Linked DNA regions of Homo sapiens: regions 1 and 3 are each linked to region 2. Evidence: promoter capture Hi-C in human tissues and cell types (Jung and others, 2019). All regions are on one chromosome and are shown on one strand. The core of a region is centred on a gene start or on the middle of the fragment in contact, and the rest is flanking DNA. Distances in the headings are between cores, read along the strand shown.

Region 1 (3,609 bases), core at 723-3,222, 33 kb before region 2:
CTCAAACAGGATCTAAAAATTTCAAGGAGAGGGGCATCACAATCATGGTCAAATACCATGTCAGTGTACTGTTAAAATATTACCAAAATCTTGCCATATAAATTTCTACTGGAAAATTAGGCTGGTGGATAATTTGATTGTATTGTTCAGGAGGATCTACTTTGTGGAAAAATAAAAAGAGAAGATTTATTTCTCCATCGTCTGGTTTTATTTTATTTTATTTTATTTTATTTTATTTTATTTTATTTTATTTTATTTTATTTGAGACAGAGTCTCACTCTGTCACCTAGGCTGGAGTGCAGTGGCGTGATCTCAGTTCACTGCAACCTCTGCCACCCGGGTTCAAGCGATTCTCCTGCCTGAGCCTCCCAAGTAGCTGGAATTACAGGCACCTGCCACTGCGCCCGGCTAATTTTTGTAGTTTTAGTAGAGACGGGGTTTCACCATGTTGGCCAGGGTGGTCTTGAACTCCTGACCTAGAGATCCACCCACTTCGGCCTCCCAAAGTGCTGGGATTACAGGCGTGAGCCAGCACGCCCAGCCCACAATAGTCTGGTTTTAAATCAGCCACCGCTTGCTTCCCCATCCTCACTCATTAATCTGATTGTCAAGTTTTATCACTGTGGATGCACACATGTCAATCTCTGTTTTCCCAGATTGGTGCCTTTGCTAAAAATGTTCTTGTGAATGTTTTCTCTTTTCCCTCATTTCAATGTGTTTCAATCTGACCTGTACTTTAAGGCAAAATGCTACCTTCTTTGGGAAGCCTTCCCTAATTTCTTAAGAAACAGGTAGGCTGGGGGCAGTGACTCACGCCTGTAATCCCAGCATTTTGGGAGGCCAAGGTGGGTGGATCACTTGAAGTCAGGAGTTCGAGACCAGCCTGGCCAAACGGTGAAACCCCATCTCTACTAAAAATACAAACATTAGCTGGGTGTGGTGGTGGACACCTGTAATCCCAGCTACTCGGGAGGCTGAGGCAGGGAGAATTGCTTGAACCTGGGAGGCAGGGGTTGCAGTGAGCCGAGATTGCACCATTGCACTCCAGCCTGGCCAAGAGAGAGAGACTCCATCTCAAAAAAAAAAAAAGAAAAGAAAAAGGAAAAAGAAAAAAGAAAAAGAAACAGGTGTGATTTTTTTCCCCTCTCAATCTTAGAACCCTCTATTAGCATATCTCTTAAGGCATACGTACCTGTGTAAGGAGTGCTGTGGCTCTTTCAGTATATTTCTCATCTCATTTCAAAGGGTGTCATCCTCTTGTGGACAGGCCGTGTATCATCATCGTGGTTGTTTGCTCTTAGTGCTGAGCCCAAATCTTTCACATGTGTGAGCACAGAACAGGCTTGTTGATTGGAGTCTACATTCAGGTGGTTTCCTCTTAGGAAGGCAATCCAAAAATCCTTAAAAGGTAACTTACAAGTTTCCCCTAACTATCCACTCATGTAGAATATCCAAGTGTAACTCTAGGGGAATTGACATTTTAAAATATTTTATTTTTGCCTAACCTATACCTGCATCTAGCTTAAAGCCACCTGCACATTAAAGCAAGGGTGAAGCCTTTTAAAAATACTGATGCCCAGTGCCAATCTTAAAACAATTAAATCAGAAGCACTTGTGGAAGAGTAAAACATGAAAATTTCAGTTCCCCAATAGCTGGGTCCTCTATATTTCTTCTGCCCATAGGCACATTCAAATGTTTTAAACAATTCTTTTACTATATAGCTCAATAACTCTAGCTGATATGCTTATATTGCTACTCTATGTTTTCATTTTAGGCATTATTTTTCAGTTCCTACTGTGGAAGGTGAGTAGCCCTTTTTCTCACACATTGCTCTTTCACTTCTAGTAACATTCTAACACCTCCCCATTTGGTTCTGTTGTACTTTTGAAAGATCAATTTCTAGCATTTATGCTGTAATGACTTTACTAACAATTGAGCCATACAGTATATAGCAATTGTTTTTTTTTTCTTGCACAATGTTTTGTCTCCATTGAAATTAGCAATTATCGTGGTTTGTTCAACGTAATGATCACTAAAGTATCCTCAAACTGTCTTTGAATTGTGAAAAATCTTTTCTCCATATCTTAAAAAAATTAGGTTCTTCTCTATCTGAGGATGTTAGCCTCTTCTTGCCTAAAGACATTCTGCCCTGAGGTTAGGGCCTTGCAAAGGGCTTTTGGTCATCCTAAGGACTACCTCCCCTGTTTAAAGAGGGGGCTCTATAATCAGACAAAGTCCTGGCAGGCCCCAGGGAGTCTGGGAATACTTAAGCGTGACACGTGAAGAAAGTACAGTATACACCAAAATAATTGCAAGTTTATCAATGTTGTTGATGGAAACTGAGAACATTTATGGAAATGGATCCTAAAAGTGCTGGATTATGGTGGAAGAAATGCAATGTTGGTCTGGTCACATTTGTTGATATGAGTACAGCATGCAGAGATTCTAGATTTAGTATATTAGTTCAAGCTATAGGAAGTGGCTCTAACAGTGTACTTGTTGGTTGGTTGAAACATGGATCTAGAAGTATCCTAGACAAAATTTAAACTGAAATGCCAGAAATTTTAGAAATGTCTCAGTATACTACAAGGGACACTACCCAGATGCTTAGGATGATAGGCATGGTAAAGTAGATTTACCACGTAAGATCTGCTTACTCATCCCTAACTGTGTATACTCTTTCAACAAGGCAGCAAGAAATACATTCATGAGGGGACCCTGGGCATCTTTGAAGACCTCTGTGGAGTTGTTATCAGTAGGCCAGGAATGCAAGTGGGAACTGCTGTCATTGACCTAGACTCCTTGAATTCAATGAAGATAATGGGATTTCAGGGTGGCAGGGGCCCAGTGGAGGCCCTGAATTAGCAGAGGTGAAGTAGGAAAGGCATGACAGTATGCAGCAAAGTGGAAGCAATGATCAGAATGGTTTGACCTATGACTTCAGTGCTAATTGACCATTGTTTCTAGGACTGAAATAGGTGGACAACCTTGTAAGGTCTTACTTGATATGTACAAGCAAAAAAGTCACTAAACTTTGTGAACAGAGATCTAACTTGAATCACAGTAACAGAGATGTTGTCCCTCAAATAATTACCAGATTTGAACCAGTTTATAGATGCGGAGTCCCTTGGATGAAAGGGAGGCCAGGTACCTTCAAGGAAGAACTGTGAAAAACAGCCAAAAATTTGTATTGTAATCATTCTCTTTAGCTTTCACCAAAAGAACTTGCATTCATTTGCCAGTGTGACTGGGAATAGAGGAGAAGAAATAGCTAGACTTTGGCTCTGAATTGACACTAATTCCTAAAGGCCCAACATTGCATTGTGGGCCACTAATCAGAATAGAAGCTTATGGACATCAGGTGATCAATGAAATTTTGGCTAAGCTCTGTCATATGGTGGGCTTAGTGTGTCCCCTAAACCACACTGTGGTTATTTACTCAGTTACAGAATGCATAATTGAATTACTCAACAATGCGCAGAATTCCTCTATTGGTTCCCTGGTCCATGGAGTGAGGGCTACTGTAGAAGCCCAAGTGGAAGCTAGTAGAGTGGCTTTTCCTCACCAAAATAGTAAACCAAAAGTCATACCATATACTTGGAGGAATC
Region 2 (3,700 bases), core at 1,201-3,700:
CACTTGGAAACAGAGAGCAGAGAAAATCAGCAGCTAGGGTAAAACAGAGTTAGATTTTGATGAGGAAGATATGAGATGTTGAATGTACTGGTTTAAGGAGGTGGATCAAAGGGTATGACTGGGCAAAAAAGGTGGTGAGTCCAGAGAGATGCTGATTATTAGAAAACCAAAGATGGGGAGATCAAGGAACTAGAAGTTCCTACTAGGCTGAAGATCCGAGGTACTGGGTATAAAGGTTTGGAAGGGCTGGCAGAATACAAAGTGTTGGTGGGATTTTATAATTTTAATATTTCAGTCTTGGTTGACTTATGGATAATAGATATTCCTGGTTATGGTCTTGAGAGTAGATGGGAGAAAGAATAAGGGAAATGCCATTAGAGTTGAAGAGGCTAAACTGTGAAGCCAGAGTGTTCAGTGTATCATCCCTGATATTGGTGGAACTCAGCAGTTCTCCAGAGTTCTTCAGGTTTCTGCCTGAGAGACAAATCTCTTCTCCAGGACCTGGGAGCTAGGAGTGATCTTGCCCTTTGGACAAGATCTTGCTTGCTATTAAAAGGAGCAGCAGGAGAAAAAAAGGTGGAAGAAGAAGAGTGACAGAAGAGTACAAGGAGGAGAGAGAAACAAGGAAAGGGTGAAGGGAAGCAAAGAAGAAGGGGAAGAGGAAGAAAAGAAAAGAAGCAAAAAGAATTCTAGCCCAAAGTTGTTCTTCAATGCCCTTGCAAATGCAGGTCATCATGCCTGTGTTATCTGAATGTCTTTTAACTCCAGTTGTGATCCTGCTTCCTAATGTTTACGTAACAGAAAAAAGGCTCAGAGTAGTTCTTTTACTTGCTTGTGACAACAAAACATGTTCTGTTACACGTAAAGGGGATTTAAGGTTGCAGATGGAATTAAGGTTGCTAATCAGCTGATTAGGAGAGTGTCCTGGTTAACCAGGATGAGTCTAATGTAATCGCAAGGGTCCTTATAAGTGGAAAAGGGAGGAAGAAGAGTGATGTGATGTGAGAAAGACTCAAAGGGCCATTGCTAGCTTTGATGGGGGAAGAGGGCCATGAGCTGAGGAATTCAGGCAGCCTCTAGAAGTTGGAAAAGGCAAGACAACAGATTCTCCCCTAGAGTCTTCAGAAATGAATGCAGCTGTGCTAACTCCTTGATTTTAGCCCAGTGAGACCAGTTTCAGATCAGAACTGTCACATAAGAAATTTGAGTTGTTTCAAGCCACTGAATTTATGGTAACTTGTAACACCAAAAATAGGAAACTAGCATATACCTCTCAAAGTCTTGGTGCCCATGTGTTCCACATCTGAGAGGACCACCTTGCTTTCAGACCACTGAGTTTGCCTTGGAGGCTCTGTCCCTATACAAGGTTGAGTAAGCTGGTATCCCAGAACTCTTGATTAACACATGTGGTTGGCTGGCAGCCAGGGAAAAGTCAATATTGGGGGCCGAATTCTTCCTGAATGGAGTAAGGAGGCCTGTTTCAGCTCAGAGGTGAAAAATCTTGGCTGGATTAGCCCAGTAAATTCTCAAGATGCCTGGCAAGCGTCCTGGATTGTGGCATTCTCTGACCGATGTAAAAGCTTGAGCCTCTGAATGAATGGACGCCCTCTCCAGGGTAGCCAGTTCAGGGAAACTGGGGAGATACCTTAACACCTTCCTGGGTTGACTTAATTCCTGGTTTCCTTTTGAGTGAATGGAGGTGGGCTAGGAAAGATGGGGTTCTAGAATCAGAAGAGCCGCACAGAGATCTGCAGACTCAGAGGGGCCCACAGGCATTTGCAGCAGTCACCTCATTGCACAGCTGAGGGGGCTTGTCTGAGGTCACATTAGCAGATTAGCGCAGCCCATTTCCCTTTGTGTGACTTGGCAAAGAGAAAAATCGCCTATTAGTTTTTCCAGTGGAAGAGAATCCCAGAGCGGTCCGAGTGGGTGAGGAGTCTTGATAGAGCGATGTTGGGAAAAGTTCAGGAACTTGGAGGAGAACAGCAGGGGAGGGGGCAGCGCTGAGCGCGGAAGGATGGAGGGAGTGGGGCCCCCCTCTGCCTCAACTCTGTTCTCCTCATTTTGAGCTTGTATTTAAGCACGCCGGGGGGCTGGCCTGGGGGCCTCTCACTCGCAGCTTCCTCCAGTGCCTCCCAGGGCGGCTCTCCCGGGTCTCCCCTATTTGGCCGGCTCGGCCAGCTGGGCCTGGCGTTCGGGGCGGGGCCGGAGGAGCGCGGGGGTGGGAGTCCGGGAGGAAGATGCACCGAGCGGGCGGGCTGCGAGGCCGCGGGGCATGCGGGAGGCGGAGGGGTGGGGACCGGGGTGGGCTGCGCCCTCCCGCTCTGGCCCATTCCACACCCCGCCGAAAGCGGACACTGTCAGCTGAATCACTCCCCTTTTAGGAGGAGGGAGGGGAAAAAGGTGTCTAGCTCCTTTCTGCTTAAAAAAGCACAGGGAGATCGCGGGCAGCTTTGCAGTCGCTGCCTTCTCGCGCCTGACCATGCACCCCTGCATCTTCCTGCTGGGCCACAGGCGAGCGCTTTATTTCTGGAGCTGAGGGCTAAAACTTTTTTGACTTTTCTTCTCCTCAACATCTGAATCATGCCATGTGCCCAGAGGAGCTGGCTTGCAAACCTTTCCGTGGTGGCTCAGCTCCTTAACTTTGGGGCGCTTTGCTATGGGAGACAGCCTCAGCCAGGCCCGGTTCGCTTCCCGGACAGGAGGCAAGGTTAGTGACTCTTCTTTATTTCTTTTTAAAACAGTGGTGGTAAGACTTGCGGGAATTTTGTTGCTCCCCTTTCCCTTCCCCCACCCGGCAGAACTGAACTCTGAAAAGCCATTTGGCTGCGTTGTAAGGAAATCTGGGCTGGGACCTCAGGAGCCTAGGCTTTCTCAGAATTCAGTGCTTAAGGTGATGAGTCCTTCATTCTTATAGAAAGGTGAGTACCTCACTCTTTTACAGGGATGACACTGCAGTCTTTGAAAGACCCAAGAGGTAGCTGGTAACTTTTTCTCTTTTGTCTCCTCTTTGAATGCTGTACTGTTTTGATCCCCTATTTTTCAGACTCTAAACATGGAAAATTTTTTTTTTAAGTGCTAACTGGCTACTGGCCGTCATTGCAGTGTTTCTAGTTAGTTTTAAACCTCTGGTCAGGAAAGGGGAAATGTGATTCTTCCCCCCTACTGAGCAGGCTTGGCTGTGTTTTGGTTTCCTGGAAAGATTTAGGGTTGTATTTTTGAAAGAATAGTCCTTTTGGGGGAACTATACCTCCATAAGGGCTCACTTTTTCCTGTCCTGTCTCACTGACCACAGCTGGCTGCTTCTCTTTATGAATTTCTGAACTCATGTTATTGTAGGAAGCATTGGAAGCGTTCTGGTGGACAATTTGTTGTTGTTGTTTTATTCTTTTAAGCCTAACAGTCAGCAGTTTATTGGACTTGGAAGGGTCAGAGGCACCTTCATGTTTGGTGGGGGGTTCATTGTACCTCTGGGGGTAAACAGTCCTAGCAGCAGCAATGGCCCGCGTGGCACTCTGTGTCAGCCCATCCGATCACTGGCAATAGCCTTCCAGGGTGCAGGTACCAGTGTTGCTGTCCCTGCTGTACAGATGAGGATGCTGCAGCTTGGAGAGCTTATGAGGCCAGCTAATGTAGAGCAGAGTTTTCAGCTCAGGTAGTCTGACTCTTAGAATCATGCAGCACTGTCCTGTAGCAATAA
Region 3 (3,810 bases), core at 1,197-3,696, 51 kb after region 2:
CTCACTACCCCCTTGCCTGATATGGATGCCCTCCTCACCCTGCTTGGGCTCTGACCTCCATGTCAAGCCACGGGGCATTGATTCTCCAGACTGCTCCCTCTGGGGCTGTCCACCTTAGCTTGCTCAGGCTCAGGAACCTAGCACTGTGCCTCTTTCTCATTAACACGGACATTTTTCTCATCTTGCTCAGTCCTGGGCTCTGTTACCCTGCACCATGTATCATGCCTATGCAGATGTCTTCACTCTGCTCAGGCTATGGCCTTCTGCTAGTCCACCTCAGCTCTCCTCTCGTTCCAACCCTACACAGATGCATACTTTTATCTGTCCTACTTAAGGGCTTTAGAACTGAACTGTTCAGGAAGGGAAAGGTAGGGAGAGAAGGGCACCATGTTTGTCTGGGTGATCACCAAGGGCCCTTCCAATTCATGCTATGGGGATTTAGACTGTGAGTGCCAGCCACTCAGCATTGCTTACTTTTTCATTTCCTGTAACCTTCATAACAAATCTATGAAGTTGACCCTATGCTGGCTTAGCTACAGATTCCCAGCTCTACCTTAGTGTTTCTTGGAGCTCACCAAGTCTGGCTCTGTCTTTTGTAGTTTTTCTAGCCTTAGCTTTCTGAATGTGTGTTCGCACCCCACTGTTATCCTGGCTCTTGGTATGATGCCTACTGTCCTGGTGTCCAGGGGTCTTCTGTCCTTTTATGGGTCACCTACAGGGTCTCTGCACTGTTAGAGGGCTTAGATGGAGAGACTGTCCCAGTGCCTGGCACCATGCCTGCCTCCCACTTTCCTCTGTTTTTCCAGCTGCCCCTTGCGTTTCCTCAATAGTTCCTTATGCAGCACTCTGGATATTAAGTAAGCTTTGTGCTAATTTCAGCATGAAAAGCTCTGTTTAAAAGTTGCAGTGTAGACAACTCCTGTTTTAAATTATTTTTGCTCTAAAAGCTTTTATGCTATGAGGACTTAGACTTTTGTGAACCCTCCCTTTGTGGAAAGCTGCAACCTTGAGGATTTTCTTATACTGGAGCCATCCCCAAAGCAAATTCTATTTTACCATGATTCAGCAGAATAATTTGTAATAGTTCCCTAAGTAAAGCACCTTTTAAATTTATGTAAAAATTAGAAAGGAAGAATGAGGACCACAACAAAGATGAAAGAGTCAGGGGAGAAAAGGCATGAAGAAAGCACATTTCGCTTTTTTGCATAGGATTACCAATTATTTTGCTTCTCTTATGAGTTACAGATGAACGTTTCCAATGACTCGCTGGGCCTGTCTACTTAGATGTCTTAACAAAGTAAAGTCATAATCCTTTTGTTCTGGAGATTGAGAAGGCATTGCTGAGAGATGGTTAAGGAGACAAAACTGAGGCTTCACCCGATTGCATGAGTGGTGCTAATGGCATTTACCCGGGTGTCCAGGTGTTCAGGGAGATCATGAAGTCAAAAAGGGGATGGTGTAAGAGGAAAATGAAGATGTGTCAGGGTGTGGAATTTCATGGTTGTGTAAGAATGAGAGGTAGAACCTATTGACCCATGTGGCCCTGGCTGAAAGATTTTGATGAGGAGAGAAGCATGAGTCTGCATAAAAAATTACTTCTCTCCCAGAATACCCTACCCTACTCTGGACTGCTTGGTAGCATCTAGGACTCAGCACAAATGCTCCTTCTTGCATTGCGTTGTCAGGAACCCTAGCATAGCAGTCCCATTGATGGGGAGAGAGCAGAAACCATAATGCACTTACATGCAAGACTGAATAGTAGGAAATTAACCCATTTATGCCAGAGGTTGCAAGTTTTTGTGTGTGAAAAATCAGACCTTGGCGACGACCTTGAGCAGTAGGATAAAAATAACTCCTACAAGCTTAGCATTCCAATAATGGAACACTAGGCAAAAATGGGTTATGCTCCAAATGTAGGCCACCCTATTTGAAAGAAAGAAAAATACAGGTCAGAGCATGAGGAGAACAAAAAGTGTGAGTTTGAGTTTTTCTTTTGGAAGTTGAAAGAGAAATGAGCAAAGCCACAGGAGAACCAGAGGTTAACCAGAGACAGGATGGTTGGTGAAATGAAGTGGCAGAGGAAGTAAGAGGTCCAAAGCTGACAGCACAGTGAGAAGACTTTGCCTTAGATGGAAGTACAGGCCCTTTATGCTACAAAAAGGATGAAAAGGAAGGAGGGAGTAGCTGCAGACAACTGTGAGGTTGTGGGGCAGGAGGTGGAGGGAGCTGCAGCAGGGCCTGGAGTCACCAAACCCTAGCAGTACTGGTAAGGGCTGTGGCTATTGAAGCCTGATTGAACAGTCTGGGGTTCAGGGAGAGAATCCAGCCAGGAGACTGTGTGGTCATGTGTGCCACACAGACTGGGGGGACAAGACAGAGCTAAGGGTGGGAGCAGCTCAATTGGCCATATGTGCCACACAGACTGGAGGGACATGGCAGAGCTAAGGGTGGGAGCAGCTCAGTTCAGCAGGACTGGAATGCTTAGCTTCAGTTGATTTGAGCACTGCACTAAACCTAAAGCATCTGAGTTTGATTTGGTTTAGCACTGCACTAAACTGAGGCTGATTTGGCTTAGTACTGCATCTGAGGCTGCCTTTGGATTAGCACTGCACTAAACCAAAGGTGTCAGAGGCTGATCAGTGACCAAACAAGGGCTGCACCTGCAGGCCGAGGATTCCTCCTATCCCTGCAGGGTGGCCCTGGGGATCCAGGGTCTCATATGCCAGAAGGGCTGCAGTAAGTAAGGCTGCTGCATTCCTGGGGCCTTGGGCATAGAGCTGAATACTGTTAGTACAGCTTCCCATGGCTACAACCAGTTTCAACACCTGACTGTGTGCCAGGCACTGTCAGAGGTGCTTACTTCTTTATTTCACATAACCTTCACAACTAATCTATGAGGTGGTACCATTATCATCTCCACAGTTGAGAAGAGGAAACAGGCCACAGGGAACTTAGGTGAGTTGCTCAGGGTGGCACATCTGTGGCCAAGCTGTGAGTTAACCCAGGCTGCCAGGTTCTTCATCCTGAGGTCTTCACCAACATGCCATGGTTAATTAAAGGGTGAGATGGAGAAACTGAAGCAAGGAGATAGTGTTAGGAAACCCTTCCTAAACAGAAGTAGTAAGGAGAAAAGAATTTGAATACATACAGTGAGACCCTAGAGCTCAAGCATTGTATATCTTTACCTGAGATCTTACAAAGAGGAAGATGAAGATGTAAAAGAATAAAGTAGGCTATGCTGATATTTCACATCCTGGCCAGAGATCACCCTGCTTTTGTAAAGCTTTGGAGAAAATGGGTGTAAGTAAACTTGCCTCTGGGGCACTTCTTCCTTCATGGAGATTTGGTGTCTTTCTGCAAGTGGAGATCCTTAGGCTTTGTCAAGGAAAGTCAGTGAATGGGGAATTAGTGAGTTTGCTTAGAAAGATTTATCTTTTCATCAAAATACATTTAGAGGAATAAATTTGAATTATTTAATGCCCAAACCGTCTTCTTTTTGTAGTGTCTTTTTCTTCCTAGCTAGTCACTTGATTCAGCCCTAGTAAAACACAGAAGAACTGTCTTCTTCCCGTTTCATGAAGTTACCAAGCAAACTACTGTATTTGTTTATAGTGAACAAAAATGATAGCACGGACAAATGCGGAGAAGCAGGGCTAATGTTTGTATTGCTTGCGTTTCAGTGAAGAACGCGATACAACCTTTTTGAGTGGGCAGGGCACGGTGGTGGGGATAAGGGTGGAGAACACTGTGTTGTGGGAGGAGTTTTAAAGTGGACAGTCAAACCTAGGAGGCAAGAAGCTTGATGTTGGT

Evidence for each region. Contacts are between HindIII fragments. The study calls those that stand out against the background at their distance.
Region 1: a contact is called between a fragment that was not itself captured here and the fragment with the promoter of ADAMTS12 in region 2, in 1 of the 25 tissues and cell types used here (bladder).
Region 3: a contact is called between a fragment that was not itself captured here and the fragment with the promoter of ADAMTS12 in region 2, in 6 of the 25 tissues and cell types used here (H1 embryonic stem cells, bladder, dorsolateral prefrontal cortex and 3 more).

What each region holds. Positions count from the first base shown.
Region 1 is chr5:33,923,675-33,927,283 of GRCh38, reverse strand. No RefSeq gene overlaps it. Among named protein-coding and RNA genes, the nearest start is that of RXFP3, 11 kb to the left of the region's middle. The HindIII fragment of the contact is 5,149 bases long and covers 1-3,609 here.
Region 2 is chr5:33,890,740-33,894,439 of GRCh38, reverse strand. It overlaps ADAMTS12 (ADAM metallopeptidase with thrombospondin type 1 motif 12), which reads left to right and starts at 2,450. Exons shown (of 24, transcript NM_030955.4): 1 at 2,450-2,710. The coding sequence starts at 2,584. RefSeq lists enhancers at 2,167-2,666, 2,667-3,168. The HindIII fragment of the contact is 6,841 bases long and covers 712-3,700 here.
Region 3 is chr5:33,839,634-33,843,443 of GRCh38, reverse strand. The region is part of intron 2 of ADAMTS12 (ADAM metallopeptidase with thrombospondin type 1 motif 12); the gene reads left to right. Among named protein-coding and RNA genes, the nearest start is that of ADAMTS12, 50 kb to the left of the region's middle. The HindIII fragment of the contact is 3,081 bases long and covers 906-3,810 here.